Regions from separate parts of the Homo sapiens genome. Here region 1 is linked to region 2. Evidence: promoter capture Hi-C in 16 types of primary human blood cells and fetal thymus (Javierre and others, 2016). All regions are on one chromosome and are shown on one strand. The core of a region is centred on a gene start or on the middle of the fragment in contact, and the rest is flanking DNA. Distances in the headings are between cores, read along the strand shown.

Evidence for each region. Contacts are between HindIII fragments. The CHiCAGO score rates a contact against its expected background, and 5 or more counts as called.
Region 1: a contact is called between a fragment that was not itself captured here and the fragment with the promoter of CCL19 in region 2, in 1 of 17 cell types (endothelial precursors). The highest score is 5.1, in endothelial precursors.

The regions. Positions count from the first base shown.
Region 1 is chr9:34,862,890-34,870,340 of GRCh38, forward strand. It overlaps a transcript of PHF24 not described here. Among named protein-coding and RNA genes, the nearest start is that of SPATA31F3, 29 kb to the right of the region's middle. The HindIII fragment of the contact is 2,128 bases long and covers 5,039-7,166 here.
Region 2 is chr9:34,688,490-34,696,011 of GRCh38, forward strand. CCL19 (C-C motif chemokine ligand 19) reads right to left here and starts at 2,787. Exons shown (of 4, transcript NM_006274.3): 1 at 2,602-2,787; 2 at 1,721-1,853; 3 at 1,441-1,534; 4 at 1,081-1,350. The coding sequence starts at 2,650. The coding sequence ends at 1,330. It also overlaps a transcript of PHF24 not described here. The HindIII fragment of the contact is 13,722 bases long and covers 807-7,522 here.

The sequences.
Region 1 (7,451 bases), core at 4,853-7,352, 180 kb after region 2:
TGCCCTGGGCCAGAAGGGAGCCTACTGCCCTGAAGGGTGAGTCCTAGGCCAGACAGCATTCATCACAAGCTGACTGAAGGGTCCTTGGGCCATAAGTGTACATCAGCAATAGCCTGGGAGTGTGGTGGCCATGGGGTGAGGTTCCTCTGCTTGTAGAAAGGGGAAGGAAGAGTGGGATGGACTTTTTCTTGTGGTTTGGGTGCCTGCTCAGCCACAGTAGAATAGAGCACCAGGTAGATTTCTAAGGTTCCCAACTCCAGGGTCTGGCTCCTGGGCAGTATCTCTAGACTCACTGGGGGCTTGGAGGAACTTGACACCCTGAAGGGAAGGACACAAGCCTGGCTGGCTTTAGCACCTGCTGATTGTAGAGCCCTAGGGCCTTGAGCAAACATAGGTAGCATTCAGGTAATGGTTAGAGTGAGCTTTGGGCAAGACCCAGTGCCGTGGTGGCTTCATGTCTGACCCAGCACAGTCCCAGTGGTGGTGGCCACAGGGGTGCTTGTGAGCCACCCCCAGCTGGCTCATCAGAGAGAGAGAGAGAGAGAGAGAGAGAGAGAGAGAGACTCCATTTATTTGGGAGAAAGTAAGGGAAGAGAACAAGAGTCTCTGCCTGGTAATCCAGAGGATTCTTCTGGGTCTTATTCAAGATTACCAAGGTACTACTTCTACAGGTCTGCAAGAAGCACAGCATTACTGGGCATGGGGTGCCCCCTAATGCAGATAGAGCTTAGATCACAACACCCAAGTACTTTTGAAGCACTGCAAAACCCTCCCAAGGAGGACAGGTACCAACAAGCCCAGACTGCAGAGACTACAATAAATACCTGACCTTTCAATACCGAGACACCAACAAATATCCACAAGCATCAAGGCCATCCAGGACAACATGACCTCACCAAACAACCTAACTAAGGCACCAGGGACCAATCCTGGAGGAAACAGAGATATGTGATCTTTCAGGCAGAGAATTCAAAATAGCTGTTTTGAGGAAACTCAAATAAATTCAAGATAAACAGAGAAGGAATTCAGAATTCTACAAGAGAAATTTAACAAAGCAATTGAAATAATTAAAAAGAATCAAGTAGAAACTCTGGAGTTGAAAAATACAGCTGACATACTGAAGAATGCATCAGAGTCTTCTAATAGCAGAATTGATGAAGCAGAAGAAAGAACTAGTGAGCTTGAATGCAGGCTATTTGAAAATACACAGAGAATACGAAAGAATAAAGAATAAAAAGCAATAAAGCACATCTACAGGATCCAGGAAATATCCTCAGAAGGGCAAATCTGAGTTATTAGCCTTAAAGAAAAGATAGAGAAAGAGATAGGGGTGGAAGGTTTATTCAAAGGGATAATAACAGAGAAATTCCCAAACCTAGAGAAGGATATCGATATCTAAGTACAAGAAGGTTATAGAACACCAAGCACATTTAACCCAAAGAAGACTTCCTCAAGGCATCTAATGAACTCCCAAGGGTCAAGGACAAAGGAAGGATTCTAAAAGCAGAAAGAGAAGAGACACAAATAACATACAATGGAGCTCCAATACATCTGGCAGCAGACTTTTCAGTGGAAACTTTACAGGCCAGGAGAGAGTGGCATGACATAAAGTGCTGAAGGAAAAAAAAAACTTTTACCCTAGAATAGAATAGCTGGTGAAAATATCCTTCAAAGATGAAGGAGAAATAAAGACTCCCAGACAAATAAAAGCTGAGGGATTTCATTAACACCAGACCTGTCCTGCAAGAAGTGCTAAAGGGAGTACTTCAATCAGAAAGAAAAGGACATTAATGAGCAATAAGAAATCATCAAAAGGTACAAAACTCACCAGTAATAGTAAGTACACTGAAAAATATTACAACTCTGTAACTGTGGTGTGTAAACTGCTGTTAAGTAGAAAGACTAAAAGATGAATGAATCAAAAAAATAGTAACTACAACTTTTCAAAACATGGACAGTATAATATATAAATAGAAACAACAAAAAGTTAAAAAGCAGAGGGACAGGCCAGGCGCAGTGGCTCATGCCTGTAATCCCAGCACTTTGGGAGGCCGAGGCAGGCAGATCACGAGGTCAAGAGATTGAGACCATCCTGGTTAACCAACATGGTGAAACCCTGTCTCTACCAAAAATATAAAAATTAGCTGGGTGAAGTGGTGCACGCCTGTAGTCCCAGCTACTCAGGAGGCTGAGGCAGGAGAATCACTTGAACCCGGGAGGCAGAGGTTGCAGTGAGCTGAGATTGCGCCACTGCAAAAAAAAAAAAAAAAGCAGAGGGACAAAGTTAAGGTATAGAGTTTTTATTAGTTTTTTTTTTGTTTATGCAAACAATGTTAAGTTGTTATCAGCTTAAAATGATGAATTATAAGATAGTATTTGAAAACTTCATGGGGTTGGGTGTGGTGGCTCATGCCTGCAATCACAGTACTTTGGGGAGGCCAAGGTGGGCGGATCACCTGAGGTCAGGAGTTTGAGACTACCCTGGCCAACATTGTGAAACCCTGCTTCTACTAAAAACACAAAAATTAGCCAGGTGTGGTGGTGGGCACCTGTAATCCCAGCCACTCGGGAGGCTGAGACAGGAGAATCGCTTAAATCCAGGAGGCAGAGGTTTCAGTGAGCTGGGATTGCACCACTGTACTCCAGCCTGAGTGACAAAGCAAGACTCTGTCTCAAAAGTAAATAAATAAAATAAAAATAATAAAAAAAATAAATGAAAGCTTCATGGTAGTAACCTCAAATCAAAAAACATACAATGGATACACAAAAAGTAAAATGCATAGCTTAACTGGGTCCTCTGCTTCAGTCTCTCACAAGCCAAAATCAAGGTATCAGCCCAGGGTCTGTGGTTTCATCTGAGGTTTCAACTGGGGAAGGTTCTGCTTCCAAGCTCACTCAGTGATTGTTGGCAAGATTCATTTCCTCATGCTCTTTTGGACTGAGAACTTCAGTTCCTCACTGGCTGTTTGACACAGGTCACCTTTAGTTCCTGGCCATGTGGGGCCTCTCCAGTGTAGCTGCTTCATAAAAGTGTGAACACAAGGCAATAGAAAGTCAGCTAGCAAGTCACAAGTAATAATCTTTTGTAACTTACTCATGGAAGATGACACACCTCAGTGTTGCCCTATTCAATTGGTCAAAGACAAGCTGCTAAAGTGAGGCAATTATACAATGTCATGAATATCAGGAGGTGGGGCTGCCACCCTGTCCTCAGAATATCTAGTTCTCTGGGTCAGATTATTTTTAATTCCTGAAATCCAAATATATTTCCTGCTAAACAAATACTTTAAGCATACTATTTCCCACCAACTCTTTGGAATAATGATAATTCTTAGGTGAAAGCAGAGTTCCTTGCCTGTTTCTACCCAGCACTAAGGCAAGTTTCACACCATTTAAGCCACAGTGGGGTCCCTGTAGAGCTGTGTGCCTGCCTTTCTGTGTGCTTTTTCCCTCCTCGTGGAATAATTTTTCTTCATCTATTGCAGAAACTCTTACTCATCTTTCAAGATATAGCTCATGAAACACCTTTCAAGGTGGTCAGCAATTGACTCCTGGAAGCATGTTCCTGAAAGATTGTCTGAGAACCTCAGGGAAGGCCACGTACCTTACATAAAAGGTGACCAGCCACAAGGTTATGAAAAACCAACAGAACCAGGGCCTATAAAAAAAATGCAGAATGCATAGCATTGACCCTGAGCTCAGTGCACATCTAGGTGGCATCAACCCTAATAAGACTCTAACCAAAGCCATAAAAAAGAGTGTCCTTTTACCTCCTTCATGATACTCCTGCTCATTGAGGAAATCCAGCCCCCTGGTCTGCCTATTTTCCAGGGACTTGCTATTGCTTTAGAAATCCAGTACCTCACTGCAGGGCTCTTGGAGCCTGTTGATAGCCAGCCTAGCCAGTCACCTGGCAGTAACTTACATGCTATTTTTAGTTTCCATTTCTGTAGACCAACTGTCCCTCCATTCACCATGTTTATCCAGCACAGCAGCACTAGCCTCAGTCATCTCAGGAAAGCATGGCCATCCTAAATTAACAGAACTATTTTGGGTTTTTCAAGTACTGAAACTAAATCCTCCTGGCCTCAGCTCTAGACTATGAGGCATGAGGAAAGTCCTGCTGCTGTATAATATTTACTGAAAGCTCGAAAATCTCAATATACATGAGAATAAAATTATGGCATGATCTTCAGCCTCTGGGGGTCTGGGCTGAAGTCTTCATTTAAAGCCACGGTGCTGACTTCCCACAGAAGCAGAGCAACAGTTAAAGAACATCACACCATCAGTGATTGGCTAGTGGGATTGCACTTAGGAAGCAAAGTTTTTCAGCAAAATGGAGAGGCACTCCCTGTTCTCTGCACTAGGTCCCTGATGAACAGATTCAGTTCCCATTTAATGCAATTATTACACCCCATGTAAATCACCATCCACTTGTTTGCTTCTTTTATAAACATTTGCTGAGTGTAGCCTGTGCAGTTGAGGTGACTGTTTTCTTGGACAAACAGAGGTAATGGAGAGAGGTGGGGAGGTACCAGGTAGACCCCTTCAGGGTCTACAAACATGAAAACTAAAAATAGCCTGTAGGCTACTGCCAAGTGACAGAATGGCTGAGTAGGAACAGGCTTCAAGAGCACTGTAGTAAGGCACTGGATTTCCTAAGGAACAGCCAGTCACTGGAGAACAATCAGACCCCTTGGGGCTTGGATTCCCTTAAAGACCGCAGAGGATAGGGACTCCTTTTGATGGTTTTTGTTAAAAGTCTCAGGGTTGATGCTGATGTGAACAGTGAGCTCAGGATTTGTGCCATGCATTCTGTACTTTTTATAGACCCTAGTTCTGTTGGTTTTCCATACCCTTGAGGCTGGTCAACTTCTATGTTAGGTATGTGGCTTTTCATAAGGCTCTCAAACAATTCTTCAGGCATATGTTTTCAGGAACCAATTGTCAACCACTCTGAAAATTTTCACCTGTAAGTGTAGATACTGTTGCTAAATTTCTCCAGCTTAGACCCAAGACAGAGGATATGCATTTTCAAAGCTTCCTACTTGTGCCCCGCCACAAGTCTAAAGGACACAACATAAATGCAGGGGACTGTTGATTTTGGTAGTGATGGTCTCTCTTTTCTAATCATTGTGGTTGCGGAAACTGGCTAAATTCCAAAATTTTGTAGCTCTCCTCTGTGATCAGAAAAATCACCCATACTTAGCATATGGGTTACCTGTTCTCATCCTTGCTAGCCCTGACTCACAGTTCAGGCTCTACTTCTGGGGAAGCAGAGTGGGTGTGATGAGCTGAAGACTTTGTAGTTCCTGGAATTCAGTTTGAAGATTTGGTCTGATCAGTCTTTCTGGCCCAATTTGAGAAAAAGAAAGAATCATGACACCATTATCTCAAACATTTTATGTTGTCCAGTCATCTTTGTAACATTCATTCAACAAAGTATATAGAACACATGCTCTGTGGAAGGCAGTGAGAACTATCTCGATTCGTTTTCCTCTGTCCTGTTCTCTATGAAAAACTGGGGCTTCATTTTCTTCCTATTGAACACCCTGTGGTTGCTTCCACCCATTCTCCCTTTCAGAGATTTCTTTTATTTGTTTTTGCCTAATGAAGCTCTGTCACTTTTAACAGGAAATCACTGTCATTCTTTTGAGTCTTCCAAAAAGTTGTCACCCCCATATCAAGAATCAAATGAAAGCAAAGGCTCATCTTTTATATTTGCATTTAACATAGCAGTATGAGAGAGCTCTGGTTGCAACTGATTAGGAGGCTGCTCATCAGACTTTCACAGCTACTTATCCTTATAGAGAGAGGTAAAGGAGGGAGGTTCCCTAAATGCTTTCTTATTTCTTCTTTTCCTTCTCTTTTTTTTTCCTTCAACTTTAAGTTCTGGAGTACATGTGCAGGTTCGTTACATAGGTAAATGTGTGCCATGGTGGTTTGCTGTATAGATCAACCCATCACCTAGTCATTAAGCCCAGCATCCATTAGCTATTCTTCCTGATGCTCTTCCTCTCCCAGCCCTGCATGACAGGCCCCAGTGTGTGTTGTTCCCCACCATGTGTCCATGTGTTATCGTTCAGCTCCCACTTATAAGTGAGAACATGCAGTGTTTGGTTTTCTGTTCCTGCGTTCGTTTGCTGAGGATAACGGCTTCCAGCTCCATCCATGTCCCTGCCAAGGACATAATCTCATTCCTTTTTATGGTTGCATAGTATTCCATGGTATGTATGTGCACAATTTTCTTTATCCAGTCTACCATTGATGGGCATTTGGGTTGATTCCATGTCTTTGGTATTCTGAATAGTGCTGCAATGAATATATGCATGCATGTATCTTTATAATAGAATGATTTATATTCCTTTGGGTATGTACCCAGTAATGGGATTGCTGGATCAGATGGTATTTCTGCTTCTAGATCTTTGAGGAGTCACCACACTGTCTTCTATAATGGTTGAACTAATTTACACTCCCATCAACAGTGTAAAAGCATTCCTTTTTCTCCACAACCTGGCCAGCATCTGTTGTTTCTTGACTTTTTAATAATCGTGATTCTGACTGACGTGAGATGTTATCTCCTTGTAGTTTTTATTTGTGTTTCTCTAGTGATGAGTGATGTTGAGCTTTTTTTCATGTTTCTTGGCCATATGAATGTCTTCTCCTTCTCCTGCTGCAGAACAGCTCCCCCTGCCTCCCACTTTACCCTTACAAATAAGCAAGTTCTCTGCAGAGAAATGTGTGTGTTTTGTATACACACACACACACATACACACTGCCTGCATATATCTTACTACCTTACAGATACATCTAGAGAGGTTTTTTTGTTTGTTTTGTTTTTGGCTGCAATAGTACCAAGGAAAGATTCAGGCTATAATCTGCCTTCATTTTCTTTAGTTTATATAGCCAGATGACCCTAATCTACCTTCTTATCCCACTTTTTGAGGTTCTTTTTGAGTCCTCACCACAAATTATCTGACTTTTCATCCTTGTTAGGAAGGCAGAAATTCCCAGTTTTCAACCAAAAAAGTAATCATTAGGCATAATTTGTGGCACCTTTGTCATTTCATTTCTTTACAATTTCTTTTTCTTAGAACTTCCTCCAGCACAATGGAGGCCAGTCTTTCTCATCAGGTATTTGTTTTTGTTGTTTTTTTAAATTAATAAGCTTTATTTTTTAGAGCAGTTTTAGGTTCACAGTAAAATTAAGTGGAAAGTACAAAAAGCTTGCATATGCCCCCACCCCAGCAAAACCTTCCCCACTATCAACATCCTGCACTACAGTCCTAAACTTGTTTCCACTGATGAACCTACATTGACACATCATTATCACCCAAAGTCCATCATTTACATTAGAGTTCACTCTTGGGGAAGTGTGCATTCTATGGATTTTGATAAGTATATAATGGATAGTAATACTGCATAAATGTATAAATATATATATTTTGATA
Region 2 (7,522 bases), core at 1,537-4,036:
GCCTTTGAGCCCTGGAGCCCATGTAGACTGTAGGGGTGGTGGTAGGGCTCCTCTATGTGGAATCTCCTGTGCTTCCCTGGCTACTCCTTCTTCCACCCCGTGGGCCTCTCTCCTGTCTCTGACCTCTGACTCCCAGGTCTGTCTGTCGGTGTCCCTGAGAGGCATGGCCCCAGGATTGCAAAGATGGGGCTGGACCTTGCTCAGTTTGGCTGAGAGAGGAAGGCTGGCCTGGAGGTCAGATTCTGTATGGACAGAATGAACAGATGGACCCTCAGCCCTGGCTGCTGAGCCTTTCCTCACATATTTATTCATTCTCTAAACAAATATTTATTGAGGGACTGCCTTGTGCCAAGCAGCATGCTGGACACCACAAAAACAGTGGAACCCAAAATAGATGTGATCCCAGTCCAAGAACATGGACAAATTTGGACAAACCAGCAACTATAAGTCAGGGTGATGAATGCTGTGAGGGGCCACTGCAGGAGGCTACCTAACCCAGCCTGGGGTCAGGGAAGGCTTCCTGGAGGAAGAGGCGTCTGGACCCAGATGGGAAGCCAGGTGGGCAGAGGAGAGAGAAGAGTGTGCCAGACCAAGGGAAGGGCATGGGTGGATGGGTATTTTCCCCCAGGCAGTAGAGCTGGGCCCTTTGCCCCACTCCACCTCCCCCAGCCGTGAGAGCTGGTTCCCCACAACTCCCTTCCCCCCAGTGACACTGGATTCCTTAGACACCTGGATGCTTGAACACCTGCCTTGGAGAGCAAAGAGTGGGAGGCATGAGACGCTGGCTCATTCAGGGAACTGACCCAAGCTTAGTGTCGCTGAACTATGGAAAGCAATGAGGCTGATCCTGAGAGCATCAGGTTGTTAAGTGGAGGTGAGCAAGGAGACCCCCTAGGCCACAGAAGAGAAAATAGATCCTGCCATTCCACCTCCCCCTTCCTATTCCTGTCCACCTGGCTAGACAGCAAACGGACAGCAGACAGATCTATGGGTGCCAGGTGCCTTTTTTTTTTTTTTTAAGGCTAGTTAAGCAGTAGGAGTGGAGAAAGAACAAAGAAATCTGTAACAGGTTGTGATCAATTAGTTGTAAACACCAGGCGGCTTTATTGGTAGCATTGCAATCTGGGGGTGGAGCAGCTTTACTCTGACCACACTCACCCTCTCGCTCACACTCACACTCACACACACCCCAGGCCCTGTCCTGGCTGGTCAGGTCTGGTGCAGAGGAGCTGGAAGCCTGGTCCTTCCTTCTGGTCCTCGGTTCCCCAGGTTAGGTAATAATTCACAATGCTTGACTCGGACTCCGGGCTCCCTCTGCACGGTCATAGGTTAACTGCTGCGGCGCTTCATCTAGAGGAGGAAGGAGAGGAAGGATCATGGGCTGGAATCTTAGACAGGAGCTCAGAGGGAGGAGACAGGGCCAGGGAGGGCCAGGCTTGCCTTGGCTGAGGTCCTCTGCAGTCTCTGGATGATGCGTTCTACCCAGGGCTGGTCTGGGGGTGCACAGAGCTGGCGGCCCCTCAGTGTGGTGAACCTGGGGTGAGAGGCCGGAGAGAATGGAGCCCCAGAATCCAGCATGCCTGGGGACCATGTCTGGGAACCTGTTTCAGGGATTTCCTTGAAGGGGTTGGGCTTGGCATGGAGAAGGGGAATAAGAAGGTGGGAGTCTCAACAGGGGCTAAAACGGGAGATGAGGCTAGACACCCTCCCCACAACTCACACTACAGCAGGCACCCTGCAGCCATCCTTGATGAGAAGGTAGTGGAAGTTCCTCACGATGTACCCAGGGATGGGTTTCTGGGTCACAGACAGGCAGCAGTCTTCAGCATCATTGGTGCCACTCAGAGTTGGGGCTGGGATGGGGAAAGAAGGTGACAGGACACAGGGACCCTTGAGGGTGGCATGGCCATGGCCCTAGCTCGGATTGAGGACACCTGTGTGTGTGTGTGTGTGTGTGTGTGTGTGTGTGTGTGTGTGTGTCTGGTGGGGTCGGGGAGGAGTTAGACCTGGTATTCAGCCATTATGCACCAATATGGCTCTGGCTCTACTGGTTGCTAAATATATTGTCATACTTCTAAACTGTTTTGTAAATAACCACTGCCCTGAGCCCCACAAATGACTTCCTGCTGCCCTGATCACCCCAACCTCTCTCCCAGGACAATCCAGCAAGTAAAGAGTTAATGCAGGTCACAGTGTGGGAGGGGCGTGGGGTAGGGTAGGCTGGTGTTAGGAGCCTTATTAATTGCTAAAATTTTTGAATATCAGCCTTGGCTTAGTGTCTGCCATTCTCCCTACCTTAAGCAAATCTCCTTCTGCCTGGGAAACGGAGGCAGCAGGAAATAGAGCTTGCAGAGACAGTCACAGCCATAGGCCCCAGGATGTGCTAAAAGACACACCCGCATTGGGATTCAGGGGCACAGGGACACCCACACTTACAGGCACACATGCAGGGACCTGCCAGGCTCACCGAAATATACAGACCTAAGCATTTGCCTGAACTCACCATGTCCCTTACGTCCAGTGCCAAGCAATCTGAGATCTAGACATTACCCACTGCCAGCCCCCCACTGCCTCTGACCCTGACTCTCCCTTCAGCCTTACCTGGGGAAGTCCAGAGAACCAGCAGGCTGAGGGCCAGTAGCAGGGCCATGGAGGGTGAACAGAGGCAGGCCAACGGTGAATGTGTGAGCGCCAGCTGTCTGGGTGTGTGCAGGATCTGTGTGAGGCTGCAGGGCGACTGGGATGCAGGGGTGAAATGCAAGGTGTGAGTGATGTGAGGCTGGGAATGTGAGCCCTGCAGCTGACTCCTATTTATGGCCAGAGCTTCACTTTCTCTGCCTGAAATTCCCCTTCATGTCCCATTCTGTGATTCCCCTGTTGCCCCCCTCTTTCTGGCAGAATCGCACCCTGCCCCCCTTCTTCCCCCTGCGGTTGCCCTTTCCTTCTGCTTTCCTTGGCTCCTGCTCTGAGAACTTAAGTCTGCAGTCTGGCCCAGTAAAGGGGGCTGTGCACTGTTTCTCCAGAGAGAGGGATTGCCCTGTCATCCCATTGATGGCATTTGCATCATCAACCATGAAGCTGGGGTTCAGAAGTGATGGTCAAAGGTGGGGCCCACAGTGAGGAACTGTGCTCCCTTCCTTAGGTTTATCCCTTGTCCTCACTGGTGCTTCTTTCTTGGGCTGGTGGTGAAGAAGGCTCCCTGGCACCCTCAGGACAACCATGAGATCCTGGGGTGGCCTCCAAGGTCATCACTGTGCCTGCCCACTATGTGGGAACCAGTCCTTCCCTTGGGGCAAGCAGAGCTGAAAGGCCAGGTACCTTGGGAGGAGGCCCAGGACCCCCATCCCACATCTCAGGCCTCTGGGGCTCAGCAAACCCTCCCCTTCCTCTATTTACTGTTTTCCTATGTCCAACACCTGGGTCAAAGGAACAGCTGGAGGGAGACTGGCTTGGAATAGCCCCCTTCATTTTCCCCCTTTTCTCAGTCCTGGGAACCAAGAGGGGATTTCTAAGGAGAGGGGCTGGCCAGCTCATATTCAGACAAATCTTAAAATTTCAAGGAATCGGCCGATGGGGGAGGGGACAAGTGACTTCCCATCCTTATGAGAAAGGTCAGAAGAGAAGGCCTTGAAAGAGAAACTAAATGTGAAACGCCCAGTCACCCGTCGTCACCCAAACCCTAGACCCTCTTTTGGATGGAGAGAGGGAGGGGGAACATTTCCCTCTTAAATTTCTGACTTAGCTTCTTTCCATTCATTAATCATAATAATAGTAATGGTATTTTTGATTGTTTACTATGTGCTAGGCTCTATGTCAAGGACTTTACCACTATTACCTTGCTTAACTTTCCCAAAACAATACCATTGATGTAGTTTTTCTTATTTTCACATTATTATTCTTATTTTACACATAAGGAACATGAGGCTCAGAGCACAAAGCCACACAGCTAGTAAGTACTGGAGCATGATTTGGACCCAGGTGTGCTCTAGGGTTTGCAGTCTTTACCTCCACTCCACACCGCCTGTCTGCCACTTGGTCATGGCACAGCACGGGTAGTCACGGTGCAGAGGAGGGAGACTCTGCAGACAGAGCGCCTAGCTTGGGATTCAGATTCCACCACTTACTAACTGCGACAAGGTGAAAATTCTCCAGTTTCTGTGTCTTAGTGTCCTTATTTGTAAAATGGGAATGGTAGAAGATCTACTTCTTAGGATTAAGTGAGGAACCCTGAGTAAAGCCCTTAGCTTAGAGGCTGACGCACAATAAGCTCTGTTAGCCATTGTTCTTCTTTTGTCCTTTTTTTTTTTTTTTTTTTGAGACAGAGTCTCACTCTGTCACCCAGGCTGGAGTACAATGGCACGATCTTGGCTCAGAGCAACCTCCACCTCCTGGGCTCAAGGGATTCTCCTGCCTCAGCCTCCTGAGTAGCTGGGATTACAGGCACCCACCATCATGCCCGGCTAAATTTGGTATTTTTAGTAGAGGTGAGGTTTCACCTTGTTGGCTAGGCTGGTTTCGAACTCCTGGTTTCGAACTCCTGACTTCAAATGATCTGCTTGCCTCCGCTTCCCAAAGTGTTGGGATTACAGGCGTGAGCCACCGTGCCTGGCCTTCTATCCTTTTATTCAGGTATCTGTTCATTAATTCATCCATCCACCCCTCTTTCCATTGATCTATCCATTCTTCTGTCCATGATGGTTCTGGTTATTCTGTTTGCCCCAGCCTATCCATTCTCCACTCTTCACGGCCCTGCTCTGCTCCCTGGAAGGCTGACCTCTGCAGATAGCATTACTTAGGGTCACCTGCTTTCTGGCTTCTGTTTGGGGCTGGCCCATGGGAAGCAGCAACTGATCAGTGGTGGAAGGAGAGAGGGGTATTAATTCCCCAAATCCTTCATCTTGCTGCAGTTCTGGCAGTGAATAATTTCCCCTGTGGCAGTTGTTCTCAAAGAGTAGCCTTTGGGCAGCAGCAGCAGCATCACTTGGGAGCTTGTTAGAAACACGAATTCTTAGATTTTACTTCCCACTTACCACATCTGAGACTCTGAGGATGGGGTCCAGCAAACTGCATTTTCACATACCCTCCAAGTGACTCTGATATGTGCTAAAGTTTGAGATCCAAACGAGCCTCAGGGATACCATCAAATATACCTCATCACAGGAGTCTCAGGAGGAGAATAGAGAGAACAGGGCATTAAAAAAATTGAAGAAATAATGACAAAACATCTGAAATCTGATGAAAAGTATGTATATACATATCCAAGAAGTTCATTACGCCTGGCCTGCTATGTTGTTATGTTTATCAGAGATCTTTGTTTCTTTGTGTGGCTGTAAGTTATTACTTTTTGTCCTTTTGTTTCATTCTGAAGGTCTCCCTTTAGCATTTCTTTGTTTGTTTTTTGTTTTTTCTTTCTCCCTTTAGCTTTTCTTATGGGCAGATGTACTATTAATGAACTTCCTAAGTTTTGTTTATCCAGAACAGGAGTTTGAGACAAGCCTGGCCAACATGGTGAAACCCCATCTCAACTCCTGACTACTCAGCTACTCAGGAGGCTGAGGCAGGAGAATCCCAAGGCTCACCTTGGCCTCCCAAAGTGGTCTACAGATTGAGGCCCACTGATCTACAGTGATCCTTTTGGGTTGCCTCCCTTCCACGGGTCTATCTCTATTCTTTTTTTTTTTTTTTTTTTTTTTTTTTTGATACAGAGTCTCAATATGTCACCCAGGCTCTAGTGCAGTGGCACAGTCTCAGCTAACTGCAGCCTCTGCCTCCTATGTTCAAGTAATTCTCTTGCCTCAGCCACCCGAGTAGCTGGGATTAGAGGCACGCACCACCACGCTTGGCTAATTTTTTTTTTTGAGATGGAGTTTCACCCTTGTCACCCAGGCTGGAGTGCAATGGCACAATCTCAGCTCACTGCAACCTCCGCCTCCTGGGTTCAAGCGATTCTGCTGCCTCAGCCTCCTGAGTAGCTGGGATTACAGGGACCCGCCACCACACCCAGCTAAGTTTTTTGTATTTTTAGTAGAGATGGGGTTTCATCATGTTGGCCAGGCTGGTCTTGAACTCCTGACCTCAGGTGATCCACCTGCTTTGGCCTCCCAAAGTGCAGGGATTACAGGCGTGAGCCACCATGCCCGGCCTAATTTTTGTACTTTTAATACAGATGAGATTTCACCATGTTGGCCAGTCTGGTCTCAAATTCCTGACCTCAGGTGATCCACCCGCCTCGGCCTCCCAAAGTGCTGGGATGACAGGCTTTGGAAACACTGTTCCCTCCTCTTGCCCCTTCAAGCCTTTGTATGATAATGGTTTCTCACCATTGCTAGACCCCAACTGCCTATCATCCCATGTTAGTTCCTTAATCCTGACCTAATCTCTTAAATTGTCCCTTTATTAAAATCTTTCCAGTTAAATTTTTTTTGAGTGTATGTGATATTGTGAAATATATATCTGGTCTTCATCTTCCTTTTCTGACATATAGCTCCTAAAATCCTTGGAATCTTGGGAGAGATTGTGTCTTTTGTATGCTAATGAGATAACTGGTGGCTGGGGGCCTCTAGACAGCCTCTGGATGGGAGCTAGTCAGCAGAAGAACCAGCCACATGGTTAGAGAGTTGGAACATTCTCTAACATTCTGTAGTGGTGGGGAGTCCCACCCACTCCCCACCTCTGGGTAGGGGAAGAGGGGTTGAAACTTGAGTTGATAAACCAATGGCTGATGATGTAATCAATTATACCTAGGTACTGATACTTCCATTAAAAACCCGAAAGGACTAAGTTGGGGTGGGGGCTTCTGGATAGCTGAAAACATGGAGGTTCTGGAGGAGGGTGCCCAGAGAGGGCATGAAAGCTCCACACCTTTTTTTCCCCATACCTCACTCTATGCATCCCTTTCATCTGGCTGTTTATCTGTTCTTTGTAATATCCTTTATAATAAATGGGTAAGCATAAGTAAGTGTTTCTCTGACTTCTGTGAGCCGCTGTAGCAAATTAATTGAACCCCAGGTGGGTTGTGGAAACCCTTATTTATAGCTGGTCAGTCAGAAGCATAGGCCACACTCTGTGCTTGCAATTGGTATCTGAAGTAGGGGGGCAGTCTTGTGGAACTGAACCCTCAACTTGTGGGATCTGATGCTACCTCCAGGTAAATGATGTCAGAATTGAACTGAATTAGGGGACACCCATCTGGTGTCCACTGAGGAACTGTCTGCCAGATAATTTCTTGGTGGGGAGAAATCCCCACACACTTATGGGTACCCAGAGGTCACAGAAGTATTGAGTGGTGAGAGGGAGTAGAGAGTAGGGAAACATGGTTTTCCCTGTATCCTTGGAGTGTGCTATCTGTTTCCTGCCAGGGTCCTCACTGATATAATTGGCAGTACCAGGACATAGATTCCCAAAATGGGATTCTAGGATTGGCTTGCCCTTGATGAGGGCATGGATGGTCTCTGTGGTTGGAAAAAGAAGACACAAGTAATCTGGAGCACGTAGAAGCATCACAGTCACTTAGACTATCACT